4 separate regions of the Homo sapiens genome follow, and regions 1, 3 and 4 are each linked to region 2. Evidence: promoter capture Hi-C in human tissues and cell types (Jung and others, 2019). All regions are on one chromosome and are shown on one strand. The core of a region is centred on a gene start or on the middle of the fragment in contact, and the rest is flanking DNA. Distances in the headings are between cores, read along the strand shown.

The links. The method cuts DNA at HindIII sites, captures the fragments that hold promoters and counts their contacts. A contact is called where the count stands out against the background at its distance.
Region 1: a contact is called between a fragment that was not itself captured here and the fragment with the promoter of NFATC2IP in region 2, in 1 of the 25 tissues and cell types used here (dorsolateral prefrontal cortex).
Region 3: the fragment with the promoter of SPN here is called in contact with the fragment with the promoter of NFATC2IP in region 2 in 2 of the 25 tissues and cell types used here (dorsolateral prefrontal cortex and lymphoblastoid cells).
Region 4: a contact is called between a fragment that was not itself captured here and the fragment with the promoter of NFATC2IP in region 2, in 1 of the 25 tissues and cell types used here (dorsolateral prefrontal cortex).

What each region holds. Positions count from the first base shown.
Region 1 is chr16:28,285,313-28,288,824 of GRCh38, reverse strand. LOC124903670 (a long non-coding RNA gene) reads left to right here. Exons shown (of 2, transcript XR_007065033.1): 2 at 1,758-3,512. It also overlaps a transcript of SBK1 not described here. Among named protein-coding and RNA genes, the nearest start is that of SBK1, 5.5 kb to the left of the region's middle. The HindIII fragment of the contact is 6,033 bases long and covers 1-3,512 here.
Region 2 is chr16:28,949,126-28,952,511 of GRCh38, reverse strand. NFATC2IP (nuclear factor of activated T cells 2 interacting protein) reads right to left here and starts at 1,575. Exons shown (of 8, transcript NM_032815.4): 1 at 1,114-1,575; 2 at 308-380. The coding sequence starts at 1,500. RefSeq lists silencers at 1,120-1,239, 1,380-1,479 and enhancers at 1,199-1,699, 1,719-2,253. The HindIII fragment of the contact is 8,980 bases long and covers 1-3,386 here.
Region 3 is chr16:29,661,220-29,664,591 of GRCh38, reverse strand. SPN (sialophorin) reads right to left here and starts at 1,345. Exons shown (of 2, transcript NM_003123.6): 1 at 1,276-1,345; 2 at 1-897. The coding sequence starts at 863. RefSeq lists silencers at 241-360, 1,621-1,680 and enhancers at 1,861-1,940, 2,581-2,630. The HindIII fragment of the contact is 34,536 bases long and covers 1-3,372 here.
Region 4 is chr16:29,836,614-29,840,156 of GRCh38, reverse strand. It overlaps MVP (major vault protein), which reads right to left. Exons shown (of 15, transcript NM_005115.5): 7 at 3,199-3,435. Among named protein-coding and RNA genes, the nearest start is that of MVP, 18 kb to the right of the region's middle. The HindIII fragment of the contact is 6,347 bases long and covers 1-3,543 here.

The DNA of each region.
Region 1 (3,512 bases), core at 273-2,772, 660 kb after region 2:
GGGAAACTTTGGACTCCATGTGTTCTGGGACCAGCAGGTGAGAAGAGAGGGCACCAGCATGGCTGCACTAACTGACCCTGGTCAGCAGAGAGGGCAGGGCTGCTTTTACAGTGGGAGGACAAGGAGGAATATATGGGAATCCAGTGATCCATGGGTTACAATAACCAATAATTTAGGTCCCTCAGGACTGAAGGGTCGGGTCACATCACCAGGTAACCCACCAAGGCCTGCCAAGGCGACGGTGGAGAGTGTGGATAATTTAGAATGGATAGTGAAGAAAGAAAGAACAAGCGCTGGTTATGGCCTCTCGATAACTGCAGCAAGGAGGCGGGGGCTCTAGCATGTTCCACTAATCTCCCTCTTCAAAGTTTTCCCATAGAAAGAGAGGCTCACAGGATCCATGGTAGAGCTGAGTAGTGCAAGGGATGGAAGGTGACGGCCCTGAAAATGTGCCATTCAGACCTCTGACTTCAGGAAAAGTCATTGACCAAGGGCAGCAGCTGTGAAACCCATCTGTGGTTCACACAGGAAGGCTCTGGTTTGCTTCCCACGAGCTGATCCCAGCCAAAGAACTAAGGCGCGTCTGTTCGTGGAGACACAGGACTCCTCGAACAGGCAGCTTTGGATCAAGGACTCCCCCTTGACTTTGTAAAAACTTTCTCACTGCACTGCAGTTGAAGACTCTTCCTCTCCCATCATCCTTCCTTCTGTCTCTCTTTTCCACGTGTTAGATCTAGTACAGTCTGATGATCTTCCCAGCTTCCTCTTCCTCCCTCCTTCTTGGTCCCTCCCAAGGGTTTTCCTCAATAAATCATTTGCACATCTGGCCCACCTTGCCTGCTTCTCAGAGGATGGAACCAACACAACACATCTGAAGAGAGGCACAGAAGTGGTGACTTTGGGAGGCCAAGGTGGGCAGATCACCTGAGTTTGGGAGTTCAAGACCAGCCTGGGCCAACATGGCGAAACCCCATCTCTACTAAAAATACAAAAATTAGCTGGGCATGGTGGCACGCACCTGTAGTCTCAGCTACTCGGGAAGCTGAGGCCCAAGAATCACTTGAACTGGAGAGGCAGAGGTTGCCATGAGCCAAGATTGTGCCATTGCGCTCCAGTCTGAGCAACGGAGTGAAACTCTGTCTTTCAAAACAAAGCAAACAAAACCAAAAACAAACAAACAAAAACAAAAAAAGAAGTAGCAGCCTGCAATGGTGCAGTCCTTTGTCCCTGACGCCTAGGGATAAGCCACTCTTGCCAGCTCAAAGGTGCCACCTCTCCAGAGAGGGTCTTGATGGGTATAATTTGGATAGCGGAACACAAAGAAAAAACTTAGCCATGATTTTATTTTCCTTCTTTCTTCTTTTTTTTTTTTTTTTGAGATGGAGTCTTGCTCTGTCACCCAGGCTGGAGAGCAATGGCACAATCTCGGCTCACTGCAGCCTCCGCCTCCCAGGTTCGAGCAGTTCTCTTGCCTCAGCCTCCCAAGTGGCTGGGATTACAGGCACGTGCCACCATGCCCAGCTAATTTTTTTTTTTTTGTATTTTTAGTAGAGATGGGGTTTCACCATATTGGTCAGGCTGGTCTCAAACTCCTGACTTTGGGTGATCTGCCCACCTCGGCCTCCCAAAGTGCTGGGATGACAGGCGTGAGCTACCTAGTCCAGTCTCTTTTCTTTTTTTAATTTAATTTTTATTTATTTATTTAGTTTTATTTATTTATTTATTTCTTGAGATGTAGTCTTGCTCTTCTCCCCCAGGCTGGAATGCAATGATGCGATCTCGGCTCACTGCAACCTCCACCTCTCGGCTTCAAGCAATTCTCCTGCCTCAGCCTCCCGGGTAGCTGGTACTACAGGCTCCTGCCACCACGCCCAGCAATTTTTGTATTTTTAGTAGCGACAGGGTTGTACCATGTTGGCCATCCTGACCTCAGGTGATCTGCCTGCCTTGGCCTCCCAAAGTGCTGGGATTACAGGCATGAGCCACTGTGTTCAGTTGGCCATACTGATAGACTCCAGGCTTTGGGAAACTGATGGCATTTGGGGATTTCCCCAGCATGTCCTGTGATGCTCTTGATTCCTTGTGTCTCCAGTCATGACAGAGAGAAGGCATTCCTGGCTTGTTGGTCCACATTTATGATTTGTTGATGTTGTTGTTGAGATGGAGTCTCACCTTGTCGCCCAGGCTGGAGTACAGTGGCGTGATCTTGGCAACCTCCATCTCTTGGGTTCAAGTGATTCCTCTGCCTCAGCCTCCCAAGTAGCTGGGATTAAAGGGGCGTGCCAGCATGCCTGGCTAATTTTCATATTTTTAGTAGAGATGGGGTTTCACCATGTTGGCCAGGCTGGTCTCGAACTCCTGACCTCAGGTGATCCACCAGCCTTGGCCTCCCAAAGTGCTGGGATTACAGGCGTGAGCCACTGTGCCTGGCCTGTGATTTTTTTATTTTTTCAGAAGGGGTCTCGCTCTATTGCCCAGGTTGGTTCTGAACTCCTGGGCTCAAGAGATCCTCCCGCCTCAGCATCCTGAGTAGCTGGGACTACAAGTGTGAGCCACTGTGCCAGGCACAATGGTCTTTTGTAGTGGAGAACCTCCTCCCTGGGACCACTGGAAGACACAGGCCAAGTTATTGCTGATAGGAAAACCAAGAGGTCCAACAGAACCCAAGATGGATCGGATGGAAGATGGCACAGGTGCCCGGGACGTGCAGCACTGGAGTGGGTGATGGATCCTGGAATCTCTCCATCCCTTTTTGGAGTGTACATTCTGCAGTGAGAAACAGTGCCCCAGCACAAGTACTGATGAGCTCTCCACTGCCGAAATACAACTCTGTGACCATGGCCAGCAGGAAGCCACTGATGAGGGGAAACACAGTGTGACGGTGCCCAGGGAAAGAACCTGCTTCTTTGTGACATCACGGAGCTGCTGAGCCGCTTGAACTTGGAGCCACTTTGAGTTGGGAATTCTGGCTTTTTTGCAGCTGAAAGTGTGCCAACCCCGTACAAGAAGAACAGCTGCAGGTCTGCATGTGGCGGCTCGCGCCAACACTTTGGGAGGCTGAGACAGGAGCATCTGCTTGAGCCCAGGAGTTCGATACCAGCCTGGGCAACATAGTGGGATCCTGTCTCTACAAAAAATAAAAGTGATGAGAAGAATAGCCCTAAAATCATGAGAGTGGTTGCCCCTCGGGACGGCACCAAGGAAATAGGACTGGTGCGGGGAGTATAATAGGAATTCATCTTTATCTGTTATCCTTTGTCTTTTTATTTTGAGACGGAGTCTCATTCTGTCACCCAGGCCGGAGTGCAGTGGTGTAATCTCGGCTCACTGCAATCTCTGCCTCCTGGGTTCAAGTGATTCTCCTGCCTCAGCCTCCCGAGTAGCTGGGATTACAGGCGCACGCCACCGTGCCTGGCTAATTTTTTGTGTTTTTAGTAGAGACGAGGTTTCACCATGCTGGCCAAGCTGGTCTTGAACTCCTGACTTCATGATCTGCCTGCCTTGGCCTCCCA
Region 2 (3,386 bases), core at 326-2,825:
GGCTCCAGTGTTCCCAAAGAACTTGCTGCAGATGTAACAAGATGTCACAGATTCTCAACACCTTACCGCCTCCTGCCCCGCCCAGGACTACAGAATCAGCATCTCTTCAGGTGGCACCAGAAATGTATACATTAATACATTCTATGCTTGTTAACAATCCAGCTCCTGTGGCTGGGATGCAGGAGTCCCCTCTCCCACGCTCTTCCCTTGAGCCTCAGGAGACAACTGACTGCAGGAATATAAACCCCAGGAATTCTCTTAAGAGAAGCCAGCGGCTGCGTGCCTCTCCCTGGAGGCCCTCCCTTACCTTCCTCATCCCCTGGAGGGTAGAGTTTCAGGAGGGATAGATCATCTGGGATAAGGCGAAGGCTGCTTTTAACCTGCAAAGACAAAGAAGGGAGAGGGGTCAGGCCCAAGTCCTTCCCCTACCGAAAGAAAAAATTGGGGGTAATTCTTCCCTGACACCCAGCTCCCAAATCCTCCCTAAGATCGTGGACACCTTGGCCCTCTCCTGGCAACCTAGAAGTCCAGCTTCCCCAGGATTCAGAATGGAAGTACCCTTCACCCTTTCCTCCATCTGCCTAAGACACTCTGAAATGTATGCTTCCTTGCCCTTTTTAACTAGGTTACTAGCCGCCCCTCTACCCCTGACTCTTAGGGACTCTCAGCCCATTGCTCACACGACCATCGGGGGACCCCAGCCTCTGGAGCCGCCCAGTCCTCTCTGAACCCGCATGGACCCCAACCCCCAATACTGCAGCTCCCTGGCTTCATTTGCCATGGACCCCAACCTCAAAATCCAACGGCCCCAGGTCCTCCCAGTCCCTCTCCAAAATCTCAGGAATCCCAGCTCTTCAGCCTCCCTGTGCCCCCAAGACTCTAGCTCCTAGGAATCCTAAACTTCCAACGCATCCCACCCTCCTTCACCACCCCAGTCTGCAGAAAGTCCCGGAGCCCTGCCTCTCCCTGCCTCCAACACCCTAACGCCCGAGGACCAGCCCCAGAACGCCAGCCTCAACACCCCTATAGCCCTACCCTCCCCGAACGCCGGCCCCTCCCTGGAGGCCAAGCCCTTGGCCCTTCCGCCGGTCCCCTCCCCGGGACCGGGCGCACCTTCCCCGAGTACACCGGAACCAGCGGCGCCTCCCCCGGATCCAGCACCAGCCGCCGCCGCCGCCTGACCGGCTCCCGCGGGGGTCCTGCGGGCCGCCTGTCCTCCCCTTCGCTGTCACTGTTGCTGTTATCCCGGGACGCGACCGGCCCCGGGGGCTCCGGGGGCTCCACCTCAACCTCGTCCGCGGCACCGCGAGCGGTGGCGACCTCCAGAATTTCCTCATCGCTGTCGGTGACCAAGTCCACAGACACTACGTCCAGCGTGCCCCGGGATGGAGACCGCTGGGCCCGAGGACGCCGGCCCCGACCGCCCCAGCCGCCCCGACCCCCTCGGCCGGCACCGCTACCTCCGGACCAGCGGCCCCGCTTCCCCACAGGCTCCGCCATGGCACACTTTCCTCCACAACACACGCCCGCCTCCTCTCGCCTCGCCCCGCCCCCTTCAGCGACTTTCGCCTTGCATTGGACAAACAGCCTGCTCGTCAGCAACTCTTCGCGCCCCACGCGCGGGATCCGCCTTCCCGCCTTTTCATTGGTCTCTGTACCCGCTCATCATGCGCCCACCTCTGAAACCAAGGCGCCAAAGATTCCAATCACCTCGGCACAATCACCGTAGCTTTCGATTCAGTCGGCCTCACCCATTGGCTGGGCCACCTCTCCACAGACGAGCCTCTCCCGGACCCGCCCAACCAAGACAACCGTCTTCCGGCTTGGTTAGTCGCAGGGCATCCTGGGAAATGTAGTCCTCGAGCGGTAAGGTTTCCGGGAGAAGGAAGGCGGGCCTGGAATTCCCTGTGGAAACCGCGGATTTAACCAGGCGCGGTGCCTCACGCCCGTAATCCTGGCACTTTGAAAGGCTGAGGCGGGCAGATTGGTTGAGCTCAGGAGTTTGAGACCAGCCTGGCCAATGTGGCGAAACCGCGTCTCTACTAAGAATGCAAAAATTACCCGGGCGTGGTGGCACCCCTCTGTGGTCCCAACTACTCAGGAGGCTGAGGTGGGAGTTTCGCTGGAGCCCGGGAGGCGGAGATCGCACCACTGCACCCCAGCCTGGGTGACAGGGCGAGACCCTGTCTCAAAAATGCTTTAAAGAAATAATAAGGCTGGCCGCGCGCGGTGGCTCACGCCTGTAATCCCAGCACTTTGGGAGGCCGAGGCAGGCGAATCACGAGGTCAGAAGTTCAAGACCAGCCTGGCCAACACGGTGAAACCCCGTCTCTACTAAAAATACAAAAATTAGGCGGGCGTGGTGGCGTGCGCCTGTAATCCCAGCTACTCAGGAGGCTGAGGCAGGAGAATTGCTTGAGCCCGGGAGGCAGAGGTTACAGTGAGCCAGATCCTGCCGCTGCACTCCAGCCTGGCCGACAGAGCGAGACTCTCTCTCAAAAAAAGAAAGAAAGATAGAAATAATAAGGCTGGGCGTGGTGGCTCACGCCTATAATCCAGCACTTTGGGAGGCCGAGGTGGGCAGATCACCTGAGGTCAGGAGTTCGAGACCAGCCTGACCAACATGGTAAAACCCTGTCTCTACTAAAATACAAAAATTAGACAGGCGTAGTGGCAGGCGCCTATAATCTCAGCTACTCGGGAGGCTGAGGCAGGAGAATCGCTGGAACCCAGGAGGCAGAGGTTGCACTGAGCCAAGATTGTACCACTGCACTCCAGCCTGGGCAACAGAGTGAGACTCCATCTCAAAAAAAAATCTTATGTATTTATTTATTTTTAAATTTTATTTTATTCATTTATTTAATTTTATTTATTTATTTATTTTGAGATGGAGTTTCGCTCTTATTGCCCAGGCTGGAGTGCAATGGCTCGATCTCGGTTCACTGCAACCTCTGCCTCCCAGATTCAAGCAATTCTCGTGCCTCAGTCTCCAAGTAGCTGGGATTGATTACAGGCGTGCACTACCATGCCCAGCTAATTTTGTATTTTTAGTGGAGATGGGGTCTCACCATGTTGGTCAGGCTGGTCTTGAACTCCTGACCTCAGGTGATCCACCCCCCTCCGCCCCCGCCTTGGCCTCCCAAAGTGCTGGGATTACAGGCGTGAGCCACTGCGCCCGACTATTTATTTTATTTTTTTCTTTTTCTTGATTCGGAGTTTTGCTCTGTTGCCCAGGCTGGAGTGCAATGGTGCGATCTCAGCTCATTGCAACCTCCACCTTCAGGGTTCAAAGGATTCTCTTGCCTCAGCTTCCCGAGTAGCTGGGATTACTGTTGCCTGCCACCTTGCCCAGCTAATTTTTGTATTTTTAGTAGAGACGGGGTTTC
Region 3 (3,372 bases), core at 96-2,595, 710 kb before region 2:
AGGGCCCCAGTCCGCCGCTTCTGCCGCCGGCGCCACAGCAGGAGCAGAGCCACGAGGACTATGACCGCCAGCAGGGCCACAAGCACAGCCACTGGCAGCATGCCTCGTGAGTTCTCATCTGGGTTCCGGAAGGGCACAGTGCTTGCGTTGGTGGAGGTCGTTGGAGACATCATTGTAGATAGTTTTACGCTAGAGACCTGGGGTCCACTGGCCCCGCTGGAGGGCTCCAGAGAGCCAGTTGTCATGGTAACAGGGGGTCCAGTGGTCCCAGTGGAGGTCTCCAGAGAGTCAGTTGCCATGGTAACAGGGGGTCCAGAGGTGCCTTTGGAAGTCTCCAGAGAGACAGTTGCCATGGTAAGAGGGGGTCCAGAGGTGCCTCTGGAGGTCTCCAGAGAGCTAGCTGCCGTGGTAACAGGGGCTCCACTGGTCCTACTGGAGGTTTCTGGAGAGTTCGTTGTTATGGTTCCACCTGTCACGGTGTGGGATCCTAGAGAGTTTGCTGTTATGGGAACAGCAGGATGACTGGTTGCATGAGGGGTTTCCTGGGGCACTGATGACATCTTGATGGAAACTTCCTGGTAGGTTGTTGGCTCAGGTAAAGGGGAACCAGTGCTGGCACCAATGGAAGTCCAAAGAGGGGATCCCTCATTGATGGAAGTTGAGGGAGGTAGGGCTGAGGTCTGGTCCCCAGTGCTGTCGGCCTTAGGGTCACTTGTTATTGAAGTGGTGTACATCTTTGAGCTCAGGGGCTCGCTAGTAGAGACCAAAGGCTCTCCGGAGGTGGGTGTCTGCACTGCTGTTGTGCTCCCCAGAGCGTCTGGGCTTACCACCAGCACCCCAAGGAGAAGGAGAAGCGTGGCCATTTCCAGGCAAACAGGCAGGAGCAAGAGCTGGGACCTGCAGGTGGGCAGCCGGAGAAGCAGAACACGCGGGAGTTGCCGGAGGACCTGGCCGGGCCTCCCCTCTGCCCACTTCCCTGCCAACGGCCAGGCCCAACCTGCGGTTTAACGGTTTTTTCCATGCTGGCTTTTACTGTTATCAGAAATGACAGAGGAACAGATGCTGGCAGCTCCCCCATCAGCCCCATCCTGAGGCTCCCTCCAGCCTCAGCAGCTTAGATTCCAGCAGTGACCAGCCCCTCCTGGCCTTCCCTGACCCTGTGCAGCCCAATGGCTCCCAATCTCTTCCCATCATAACCTGTCAGAGTCTTTTCAAGCCACAGGCACATTCCCAGGCCCACTGAGGCCCCTACCCCACCAAGTCTCACCCTCTTACCGGCTCGGCTGATAAGGACGCAGCACTGGGGCCAGGTCACTCCACCACCTCCCGAGGCTGGGGCAAGACTGGGAAGGACAGGGCCCCAAGGGGAAAGGAAGTGGGCCCTGGCTCCACCCACCCCACCCACCCCTCCATCCTGCCCCACCCGCCTGCTCCCACAGCTGCTGGGCGAAGACAGCACCATCACCTGCTCCTTCAGGGGCCAGCGGGGTGCCTGGGGGTCTGGGGCTCACCTGAGGGAGGCAGGGAAGCGTGGGATCTGGAATCAGGATTCCTGGCTCTTGGCTGAGGAATGGGATGGAAGTGGTGATGCTAGGGAGGGCTGGGCTCAGAGGTGGGTGGTGGGAATGTGAGCCTGAGAACTCAAGGGTGCAGAGGAGGAGGTGGGAGGGGAGGGTGGTTTCCTTTGCATTTGTGGTCCCCAAGCTGTTAGGCCAGGAGCTGAGTGGCGCCATTTCCTGCCCTCAGAGCTCCCAGGAAGTAGCAGGGCAAGAGGAAGCCCCCGAGTCTGGCTGGGGGCCGTGAAAACCTTTGCAGGCTGGTGAGCTCTTGACTCTGTCCGGGGAGCTGGGGGTCACCACAGTGGCCCCCAGTCACAGAGACGTGGCTAAACCAAGGTGGTTCCTACACACTGCATATGCTAGGATCTTATTTCTGCAAACTAGTAAAGATGTGGGAATCTTTTTTTTTTTTTTTAAGGCGGAGTTTAGTGCAATGGCATGATCTTGGCTCGGCTCAGCACAATGTCTGCCTCCTAGGTTCAAGCAATTCTCCTGCCTCGGCCTCCTGAGTAGCTGGGATTACAGGCTTGCACCACTGTGCCCGGCTAATTTTGTATTTTTCGTAGAGACGAGGTTTCTCCATGTTGGTCAGGCTGGTCTCGAACTCCTGACCTCAGGTGGTCCATCCGCCTCAGCCTCCCCAAGCGCTAGGATTACAGGTGTGAGCCACCGCGCCTGGCCAGATATGGGAATCTATATGGAAAACCGTCTGGAAAGATATCTACTAAGGGATTCACCTAATTGTCTTTGGATAGGTGAGAGTAGGAGGTGGGGGTATTTTCTTCTTTGAATGGTTCCCATTTCCTGACTTTCCTCTAATTAGCAAGCTTTGACTCTCGGTTTGTGTATGTTTTTGGTTTTTGTTCTTGAAAAACGAAAATCAGTCCCGGGTGTGGTGATACATTATGCTGGCAGTCCAGGCCAAAGTGGGAGGACCTCCTGAGCCCAAGAGTTTGAAACCAGCCTGGGCAACGTAGCAAAACTCCTATCACTAAAAAAATAAATAATTTTTTAAAATCAAAACTGATTTGTATATTTTAAGAGCAACATGTGCACAATAGAAGATTCTAACAGGCCCGTGGGACTGTGCCATTTCTACAAGCTGATGAGTTTGTCTGACCCAAAGACATGAGACTCCTGGGTGAGAGCCACAGGAATTAATTGCTCACACCAAGCAACAGCAGCGTGATGTTTGCATCAGTTCCCCTTACCCCAAGTCCCACGGGGGCAACATGGAAGGGCCCAGACTGACACCATGCACACAGTGGGCCTGCACCGCAGCCATAGAGCTCTGAGCTTGAGAGATTCCCCTCCTCTAGGGGCCCTGGTAAGCCCAGGTTCCCACAGGGAGACGTGTCTTCATCCCTCGGGTGTGCTCACTGCAAACACAGCACTGAAAAATGGCTTGAGTACAAAGTATTCAGAGGCTGAGCGTGGTGGTTCACGCCTGTAATCCCAGGACTTTGGGAGGCTAAGGCAGGCTGATCACTTGAGGTCAGGAGTTCGAGACCAGCCTGGCCAACATGCTCTCTTTTCTGCGCACAGTGGCTCAGAAAGGTAACGGGGTGCCCATTCTGCAGGGGGGATGAGGGACACAGGAGCAAAGGAGTATAGACTAGAGGGCTGCAGAATCAGGCCCTACAGACTTCCTGTCCTACCACCACCATCTTCCAGCTGCATGACCTTGAACAAGCACATAACTTCTCCAATGCCCTAGGACCGCCACCTTCTTCATGAAGTGACTGCAAGAATTAAATGAGATAATGTTAAGTGCACAGAAAAGCAGCTACCAGCACGGGACTCTGGGTTCCTG
Region 4 (3,543 bases), core at 622-3,121, 890 kb before region 2:
AGGGTCAGTGCCTTTAGGGTTGCGGGTGCTTCCAATGGTACCTCCCCAGTCCTGTGCTGTTTCAGGCCTGTGTGGAGGACAAGAGCACCAGAAGCCCGCCCCCACCCCCACATCATAATACGGTGAGGCACTGTCTGGACTGTGAGGCTCTACACAAACGCCTGCCAAATCTCATCTGGTCAAATGTGTCCTTGAAAGATTCCATAACTGTCAGGACCTGGATCCACGCAAGCTAAACCATTAAAAATCAACCTGTTTTTTCTTCTTTCTCCCAGGCTTTGTTTTCTAGAGATGGTGTAACCTAGGGCTTGACAAACTCTGGTTTTCAGGCCAAATCTGGATTCTGCCTTTTTTTTTTTTTTTTTTTTTTTTTGAGATAGTCTTCCTCTCTTGCCCAGGCTGGATAGTGCAGTGGCATGATCTCAGCTCTCTGCAGCCTCAACCTTCCAGGCTCAAGCAATCCTCCCACCTCAGCCTCCCAAGGAGCTGGGACTACAGATGCGCATCACCACACCCAGCTAATTTTTGTGTGCTTCGTAGATGATGGGGTGTTGCCATGCTGCCTAAGCTGGTCTCAAAGTCCTAGACTCAAGCGATCTACCCACCTCAGCTTTCCAAAGTGCTGGGATTATAGATGTGAGCCACCACGCCCAGCACCGCCTGTTTCTTAAAAAAATTTTGAGATATAATCCACATATGAAATTTTCCCATCTAGAGTATACAATTCACAATTCAGTTGTTTTAGTATACTCAAAGTTGTCCAACCATCACTGCTATGTTAAGTCTAGAGTATTTTCGTCATCACCCTGAAAAGAAATCCTGTACCTAGAAGTTACTGCCACTCCCCACCTACCCCACCCACCACTAGTCTATTTTCTTTATGTGTTTACCTATTCTGGACATTTCACATAAATGGAATCATGCAATATGTGGTCTTTGATGTCTGGCTTTTTTCTTTTTCTTTTTTTGAGATGGAGTCTCGGCTCAGCAGCCCAGGCTGGAGTGCAGTGGTGGGATCTCGGCTCACTGCAACTACTGTCTTCCAGGTTCAAGAGATTCTCCTGTCTCAGCCTCCCGAGCAGTAGCTGGGATTACAGGCACCCGCCATCATGCTAGCTAATTTTTGTATTTTAACAGAGACGGGGCTTCACCATGTTGGCCAGGCTGGTCTTGAACTCCTGACCTCAGGTGATGTGCCCACCTCAGCCTCCTAAAGTGTTAGGATTACAGGCGTGAGCCACTGCGTCCAGCTGGCTTCTTTCACTTAGCATAACATTTTCAATTTTATCCATGTTGTAGCACGTATGTCATTATTTTTTGTTTTTCCTAGAGACAGGATCTCACTCTACTGCCTCAGGCTGGAGTACAGTGGCACAATCATAGCTCACTATACACTCCACTTCCTGGGGTCAAGCGATTTTCCCACTTTAGCCTCCCAAATAGCTGGGACTACAGGTGTGCCACCATGCCTGGTCAATTTTTAAAAGTTTTTGTAAAAATGGGGTCTCACTATGTTACCCAGGCTGGTCTCAAACTCCTGGCTTCAAGCAATCCTCCTGCCTCGGCCTCCCAAAGCACTGGGATTATAGTCATGAGCTGTTGCGCCTGGCCTGCCATTTCTTTCTTATGGCTGAATGATATTCCATTGTATGGATATGCTACAATTTTTTATCCATTCATTATATATGTACATTTGGGTTATTTCTAATTTTTTTTTTTTTTTGAGACAGTCTTGCTCTGTCACCCAGGCTGGAGTGCAGTGGTGTGATCTCGGCTCACTGCAACCTCCGCCTCCCGGGTTCAAGCAATTCTCCTGCCTCAGCCTCCAGAGAAGCTGGGATTACAGGTGCCTGACACCATGCCCAGCTAATTTTTTTGTATTTTTAGTAGAGAAAGGGTTTTGCCATGTTGGCCAGGATGGTTTCTAACTCCTGACCTCAAGCGATCCACCCGCTTTGGACTCGTAAAGTGCTGGGATTACACATGTAAGCCACCATGCCTGGCCTATTTCTACTTTTTCTGCCTCCTGTTTTTGCAGATAAACTATTCCAGGAGCATGGCAGTACTCACTTGTTTACGTAGTGCCCAAGCTGCTTTCCTGACATAACAGCAGAGTTGAAGAACTTCCACAGAAACAATGACTCACGGAGCCTGGAGTATCTACCATCCAGCCCCCTTTACAGAATGAGTTTGGCAACTGCTGGTATTCCCACATATAGTTCAGAGAGGGGATGAAGTAGGGGGTGGGAGAGGGTAAACCAAGAGGTTTATTTTACAAAAGATGACAAAGCAAAGTGAACACCAGGATATTAAAGATGTGAAATATAGTCACTGCATGATAGTTCAGTCCATTACAGACTGCACATGGTGGTCCCGTAAGATTATAATGGAGATTTTTTTTTTTTCTGAGAGTCTCACTCTATCGCCCAGGCTAGAGTGCAGTGGCACGATCTCGGCTCACCACAGGCTTGATCTCCAGGGTTCAAGTGATTCTCGTGCCTCAGCCTCCCGAGTAACTGGAATTACAGGTGTGTGCCACCACACCTGGCTAATTTTTGTATTTTTAGTAGAGACAGGGTTTCCCCACGTTGGCCAGGCTAGTCTCGAACTCCTGACCTCAAGTGATCCACCTGCCTCGGCCTCCCAAAGTGCTGGGATTACACGTATGAGCCACTGTGCTGGCCTATAACGAAGCTTTTATATTGTATTTTTACCTTACCTTTTCTATGGCTAGATACACAAGTACTTGCCATTGTGTTCAGCTGCCTGCAGTATTCAGGACAGTCACATGCTGCACAGGTTGGCAGCCTAGGGGCAGGCTACGCCATCTAGACTAGGTGCCATCTAGGTTTGCATAAGTGCACTCTTTTGCACAAAGACAAAATCATCTAAGGACTATTTCTCAGAATGTATCCCCATCATTAAGTGGCGCATGACTGTATCAGAGTTTCAGAGTCTCAGGCAGCGGGTAGCCAGGAGGCCTTCCCAGAAGGGGAATTAACTTCAGGTCTGAGGGGTAAGTCAGAGGCTGCCAGGAATCAAATGGGCCAGTGTCTCAGGTGTGTAAGAACTAAGCATGCAAAGGCACAGAAGGTGTTCCTAGAACGTGCGTCTGGAGGAGAGAAGGCAGAGGGCCTCATGCCACTAGAGGACATACATCTCCCAGGGCAGTCCTCTGTGGGGGTGTAGGGACCTCACCTTGACCACGCGCTTCTGCCCCAGCTGATTCTTGCCATCCGGTCCGACAGGGTCGAGAATCACGCAGTAGTTGTGGGGGCCCAGGGTGGTGATGGGCACAACCCCCAGCACCTCCTCGTGGACATCTGGCACGTGGGCCTCTGTGTCCTGCACTGTTACCAGCCACTCCTCCCCAGTGCGGCGGGACACTCCCCTGAAGTCCCGGAAGTTCCGCCGAGCCCGGAGGTGCAGGGCTGTCTGCAGAGCAACATGTTGGGTATTTGAGTGACCTGCCTCCAACTTCAGGGGATCTGCGAGCCCCATTGGCCACCAAATGCTCCCAATGCTCCCAGATCTCAGAGACAA